Regions from separate parts of the Homo sapiens genome. Here region 2 is linked to region 1. Evidence: promoter capture Hi-C in 16 types of primary human blood cells and fetal thymus (Javierre and others, 2016). All regions are on one chromosome and are shown on one strand. Each heading gives the region's core, a stretch centred on a gene start or on the middle of the fragment in contact. The rest is flanking DNA. Distances are from core to core; before and after follow the strand shown. Region 1 holds the start of GPR34 (G protein-coupled receptor 34). Region 2 overlaps CASK (calcium/calmodulin dependent serine protein kinase).

The links. The method cuts DNA at HindIII sites, captures the fragments that hold promoters and counts their contacts. A CHiCAGO score of 5 or more calls a contact.
Region 2: a contact is called between a fragment that was not itself captured here and the fragment with the promoter of GPR34 in region 1, in 1 of 17 cell types (M2 macrophages). The highest score is 5.0, in M2 macrophages.

What each region holds. Positions count from the first base shown.
Region 1 is chrX:41,687,240-41,690,808 of GRCh38, reverse strand. It overlaps GPR34 (G protein-coupled receptor 34), which reads right to left and starts at 1,836. Exons shown (of 3, transcript NM_001097579.2): 1 at 1,725-1,836; 2 at 974-1,066. All of the region lies in intron 5 of CASK (calcium/calmodulin dependent serine protein kinase), which reads left to right. The HindIII fragment of the contact is 2,059 bases long and covers 1,767-3,569 here.
Region 2 is chrX:41,550,019-41,553,355 of GRCh38, reverse strand. All of the region lies in intron 21 of CASK (calcium/calmodulin dependent serine protein kinase), which reads left to right. Among named protein-coding and RNA genes, the nearest start is that of CASK-AS1, 34 kb to the right of the region's middle. The HindIII fragment of the contact is 2,307 bases long and covers 115-2,421 here.

The sequences.
Region 1 (3,569 bases), core at 587-3,086:
CCAGCTACTCGAGAGGCTAAGGTGGGAGGATCGCTTGAGCCTGGGAAGCAGAGGTTGCAGTGATCCTAGATCACTCCACTGTACTCCAGCCTGGGTGACGGAGTAAGACCTTGTCTCAAAAAAAAAGAACATAAAAAAAAAAAAAATTGGCCGGGAGCAGTGGTTCATGCCTGTAATCCCAGCACTTTGGGAGGCCGAGGCAGGCAAATCACTGGAGTCCAGGAATTCGAGACCAGCCTGGCCAACATAGCGAAACCCTGCCTCTACTAAAAAATACCAAAAAAAAAAAAAAAAATTAGCAGGGCGTGGTGGCACGCACCTGTAGTCCCAGCTACTCCGGAGGCTGAGGCTGGAGAATTGCTTGAACCCGGGAGACAGAGGCTGCAGTGAGCTGTGTTCATGCCACTGTACTCTAGCCTGGGCAACAGAGCGAGAGTCTGTCTCAAAAAAAAATTTTTTTTTTAATTAAAAATCACAATTACATTCTGTTTTAAACTTGGTGACTGTTTTTTTTTCTCCTTTGAAGTTGGTTAGTACATTACAATGTCATTCACTATATAAGGCTATTTACTGATATTTTTTAAACTACCTGTTTGATATGTTAAGAATTGCTTGTGAAGACAAGAAACAAACCACTGTGTTTACATAGGGGATTAATTTCCCAGTGGGCATTACTTGTGACCCATGTGCTATATTGAAGTGGTCACAATAGTTTTGTAATAGTAGATAGTGTTTTTTAAATGTTGTTACTTGGCAAATCCTATTCACAAGTTCAAAAACCTAGTATTAGTGCATTGTACCCCCGCACCACCACCTACTCCTGCAGTTTTTTTTCAACTGGCTCATGTAGGAGTACTGGACCCAGAGGGCAGGACCCAACAGATTCCACTGTGACTCCAGATGAGCAGAAGCTTTTAAAATGCAGTTTGGGTATGTTTGTGAAAATATCACATTGCTATGTTGAAATACATACCTATTTGGTAATAGTCGCAACCTTTCACCGTTTTTAGTTTGACTTGATAATGACTGAATCTATTCAGGGCATGCTTCAAAATTGCATTAACTGCTGTATAAAAAATGAAAATTGAAAACATATTACTTTGGAAATAATACTATTAATAGTGTGTTAGGTTTTGTTACAAATTTAACTGTGTCCCTAGAAACACATTTTAAAAAATTATTATTTGAACTAAAGCATATTTTGCTTTCTCTCTTATCTAATATTCACCTTATTTACTTCTGAAACACCAAACTTAAATGTTATATGGTCTGGTAATACTATAAAATAGTAATAATATAATAAAGAAAAGACAGTAATTTAAAATAGGGAGACAGCATAACTTAAAGTCAATAAGTTATAATTTATAATACATTAGAAATAAAATGTATTGCATATGAAAATAACTTTTAATTCATGCAAGTAGATCTGCAAAATCTTGATGGCAGTATCCAAATGCAGTATCAACAATGTGACTATATTGACAGTAGGAGCTTAAATACCTTGAATGTCTTAAAGTACTTAAAGTAACTAAAAAGACAGTCTCATTTGAAATCAAGGCAGAGGTGTCATTCAAGCAATTTACTCAGTAGTTCTAAAAGCGAATAACTGCTGACATTAGAGTAGCCTTATCACCATGAATCACGTTTCACTTTGAATGTTCAGATAATCAAATTTTAGCTGAAATAAAGGTTCATTTATGTAGCCGAAATCAAGAAATACTCACAGTTCAGGTTCGCCTGAAGTAAAAGGAGCAGAACCCCAAGCTTCCCTAGACACTGAGACTCGTCTTGGTTGTGTCAGCTGGGCTCTTCCATCCGGTCGTGGTGCAATTGGTTGGGGTTCTCTTCTTTTTTATGTTCATATGTGGTGGTAGGGTTTTTTTTTTCCCCCTCTTTTTTTTTTTCTTTTTTCGGTATGACAACTCTCAGATTCCTTTTGAAAATATTAAAAAGCCCTACTACCATGGAACAACTTTAAGCTCAACCAACACTGAACTTTAGGAAATTATTTATATCTTCTTTATGAATACCTTCCAACTTGACAATTGTGGAATGTTTTCCTCCCCCCGCTCAAAATTTAAAAGTTTTATAAATTCTAAGCAGAAATATGTATTTTCTGTGTTTTGTAAGAAATGATACATAATATGCTATATGGACTTTCAAAGCACAAGCACTGAATTTCTGTTTCTTAAGTTTTCATCTGTACATTATTTTAGCATATTTTCATGTATTCCTTTAAGACCTTTGCTAAAACAAACTTGTATTATTAGGACTAGATGAGATTTCTGATGGTGTTCTCCCCTTTTGATCACTATGATAAACTCTCCCGAGCAAATTAAAACATCACCTGTATTTTAAGCGAAATAATGATGGGATTCTGCAGTCTTGGTTTTGATCCTAGTCCAAAATTTAACCACTATCTGTCCATCTATGTAACTGCTGGCCCTGCAGTTTAGTGTTATTTCCCTTTTTTTGTTGTCATTTGAAATGAAGAAGTTAGTTTTTATTCTCCCCATAATTGTTATCCTGCAGCTTGTTTGCACTAAATATTTGACTCATTGGGCTGTATCTAACATTCTAATTATTTCTGGGTACACTCTTCTGAACATTATATTCTCCAGAGCTTTTTGTTTGTTATAAATATGATTTATGGGACAGGATATTTTTAAATTAATAGAATAAAAATGTTTTGTAGCTCTTACTTCCCCTTAGAACCTCTGAGAAGGAAGGTGGTTGCTGTATTAGTCCTGCAATATTGTTGTATTGGCAGGATTTTATTTTATTGTGGTACAATATGTAACATTAAATTTACCATCTTAACTTTTTTTTTTTTTTTTTTTTTTGAGACGGAGTTTCGCTCTTGTTGCCCAGGCGACAAGAGATTGTACAATGGCACAATCTCGGCTCACTGCAGCCTCCACCTCCCAGGTTCAAGCGATTCTCCTGCCTCAGCCTCCCAAGTAGCTGGGATTACAGACATGCACCACCATGCCCGGCTAATTTTGTATTTTTAATAGAGACAGGGTTTTGCCATGTTGGCCAGGCTAGTTTCAAACTCCTGACCTCAGGTGGTCCACCCACCTCAGCCTCCCAAAGTGCTGGGATTACAGGTGTGAGCCATTGCGCCCAGCCCCATCTTAACCATTTTTAAGTATACAATTCAATAGTGTTAAGTATATTCACATTGTTGTGCAACAGTTTCTAGAAGTTTTTCATCGTGCAAAACTAAAACTCTTCACCACTAAACGATTTCTCTCCTCTCCCCCTGCCCTTGACAATCATGATTCTTTATGTTTCATTGATTTGGACTACTTTGGACACTTCATATGAGTGGAATCACACAGTATTTGTCCTTTTGTGACATGTTTATTTCACTTGGTGTCATATCCTCGAGGTTCATCTGCGTTGCAGCATGTTACAGGATTTCCTTCTTTTATCAAACTGCATTATATTCCACTGTATATGCACCACATTTTCCCTATGCATTCATCTGTTGATGGATTTTTGGGTTGCTTCCACCTCTTGACTAATGTGAATAATGCTGCAGTGAACATGAGTATGCATATATC
Region 2 (3,337 bases), core at 19-2,518, 140 kb after region 1:
CATGCCCATCCCATTCCCACCACCAGCAAAAAATGTAGGTGCAGTGCTTCAGTGTCACTCAGAGTATTTGAAGATAAAATGTATTTCACTGTTAGAAGGAGGTAGTCAGAAGCTTTGTTCTTTACCTTGCCAGTCCTTTAAAAATACCTTTTCTGCTAGAAAGTTTAAGCCCTAAAAGCAGGCTAAAGTTAGGGGTTTTAGGCACTGTTTTTAACTGAGAGAAAAGGAGTCACAGATCACTGTATATTTTGATAAAATCTATTTCTGCTATTATTGTTACCGTTTCCTTAGTTGAACTGTCTTTTGGAAAATATTGATGGTTTTACCTTTGTTGGTACTTGGGCAATATACCAGATTATTTCTAGCACAAAAGAGATAATGTCTGAGTTTTGTTTCATGTGGCAAAAAATAACAGCCATTAAGCATCCTGCCAGTTCCTCCTAAAATACTTGAACCCAGCTAAAAGAGACCAAAGACATTGAGTCCATAGAAATTTCTACCTGCTTTTATCTATTTTTCTCACTAGTTAAGAGATTTCTCAGTTAATCTCTTTTGCTTGATCGCCTCTTTCAGCTATCCCATGTTTCCCCAAAAAATAGTATTAAATTTAGAATGTTGGAGCTGATGAGGACTTCAGATGCCATCATTTTATACATAAGGAAACGTGGGCCCAAATGGAGAAGCAGCAGCCTTCCATCTGGCATTGTCTTTCAGTCTGATCTTCGAGAAACAGTTCAAGCATAAGCAGGAGGAAAGCAATCTTTAAGTCGTTGCCGTGATGATGCCATTATATTCTTACTGATATTTACATTTTACAGAATGTCTTCTTTAATGTTACCATATATTATGGGCATTTATTGAAAATAATTGTGTAGATTCCAGACCTCTTCTGCCTAGTCAGATCATCTATATAAATGTTTCACCAATTTCTAGAACTCTGAGTCCTCTGGAGGAATCCTGAGTGATGGCAGTGCAAAAAGCAGATTTGCTTCCTATTTCCTGTAATGGTGGATGAGATTATTTGGATAAATCCTCCTGATGAAAAAAAATGAAAAGTGCCGCAGAAAATATGTTTTTCAAATGACCTTGAAAGCACTGAATAGCTGAAAAGGTATCAGGGGCCAGGCATGGTGGCTCACACCTGTAATCCTAGCACTCTGGGACGCCGAGGTGGGCAGATCACTTGAGGTCAGGAGTTCGAAGCTAGCCTGACCAACATGGTAAAACCCTGTCTCTACTTGAAATAAAAAAAAAAAAAAAAATTAGCCAGGTGTGATGGCAGGCACCTATAATCCCAGCTACTTGGGAGGCTGAGGCAGGAGAATTGCTTGAGCCCGAGAAGTGGAAGTTGCAGTGAGCCGTGATCGCGCCACTGCACTCTAGCCTGGACGACAGAGTGAGACTCTGTGTCCGGGAAATAAAAAAAGGTACTGGGGAGCTCAGTGACCAATTTTTTTTTTTTTTTTTTTTTTTTTTGAGACGGAGTCTCGCCCTGTGGCCCAGGCTGCAGTGCAATGGCATGATCTCAGGTCACTGCAACCTCTACCTCCTGGGTTCAAACAATTCTCCTGCCTCAGCCTCCTGAGTAGCTGGGATTACAGGCACCCGCCACCACATATTTTTAGTAGAGACAGGGTTTCACCATGTTGGCCAGGCTGGTCGTGAACTCCTGACCTCGTGATCCACCCACTTTGGCCTCCCAAAGTGCTGGGATTACAGGTGTGAGCCACCACACCAGGCCTCAGTGACCAATTTTTATGTGAAAGCCTTTAATAAGAATGATAAGTGGAATATCAGAGTTACCAAGTGGCCCATTTTGCAAACAGGGCATTTGTCATTACTGAACACTTCTGTGCCAGAGAACCAAGGTTAAGATCTAAGGCCAGTACAAGTTGGGGAATCTGTTAGAAGACCCTCCTCATTGTTAGGAGTGCAAGAGGCAGTCCCCCCAGGCTAAAAGGAAACAGATAAGCATACCCTTATTTCCCTTCAACACCGGAGGACTATAGAGAAAGCTGCCTTGTCACTGAGCAAAGCAAAAGATGAGGAAATTGGGAACAAACTTCCAAATTGTGGCCACCAGTCCACCTTGAATGGATTTGCACCCAGGTACACACAGCCTGGGGCAGCCAGGGGAGCTGAAGCCATGTACTTGATTTGAAGTTTCCCCTTTCTTTACTAATAGTTTCAGATGTATGGTATAAACAGAAAGTCTCTGAAGGCAAACACTTTTATCCTAACCCCCACTAACTTCATCCTATCCGCCCGACATAAACTTTTTCCAGGGCAGTAGCCAGCAAGTCAAAATTATCAGGCACACAAGGAAACAAGTAAGACCCAACAGAAATGACAGATAGTAGAAACAAACCCAAACCTACTGCATATATTGGAATTAAGAGACAAAGATTTTAAAAATAAGCTTACGAAGTTGGTTCGTTTGTTTTTGAGACAAGGTATTGTGCTCTCGCCCAGGCTGGAGTGCAATGGCATGATCATGGCTCACTGCAGCCTCGACCTCCTGGACCCAAGCAATCCACCCACCTCAGCCTTCCCAGTAGCTGGGACAACAGGCGTGCACCACCACACCCAGCTAATTTTTTTCTTTTTCTTTTTTTTTTTTTTGTAGAGATGAGGTCTCACTATGTTGCCCAGGCTGATCTCCAACTCCTAGGCTCAAGTGATCCTTCCACCTTAGCCTCCCAAAGTGCTGGGATTACAAGTGTGAGCTACCACGCCTAGCCCAGGTTTTTAAAAATCAATAATAAGCTTGTAAAATATCTTCAGAGAGCAGAAAAAAAATGTTAATGACATAGCAGATTTTAAAAAGAACCAGAGGAACATCCAGGGGGAAACATGCAGTAACAAAATTAGAATCTCAGTGGTCACACCTATTAGAATGGCTAACATTTTTTTGAAGTTTCATCAGTGGGTAAATAGATCAATAAATTGTGATATAGCCATACAATGGAATGCCACTCAGCAATAAAAAGGATCAAACTATTGATATATGCAGCAGTATGGATGAAACACAAGATCATTATGCTGAGTGAAAGAAGCCAGGCAAAAAAGAGAACACGCTATATGATTCCATTTACATAAACTTCTGGAAAATGCAAGATGGGGGTGGAGGGAGGGAGGAATTACAGAGGGGCATGAGGAAATTCTGGAGGTAATGAATATGTTTTTCTTTTTTTGGAGACGGAGTCTCGCCCTGTCACCCAGGCTGGAGTGCAGTGGCGCAATCTCAGCTCACTGCAACCTCTGCCTCCCCGGTTCAAGTGATCCTCCTGCCTCAGCCTCCCGAGTAGCTGGGATTACAGGCGCCTGCCACCACGCC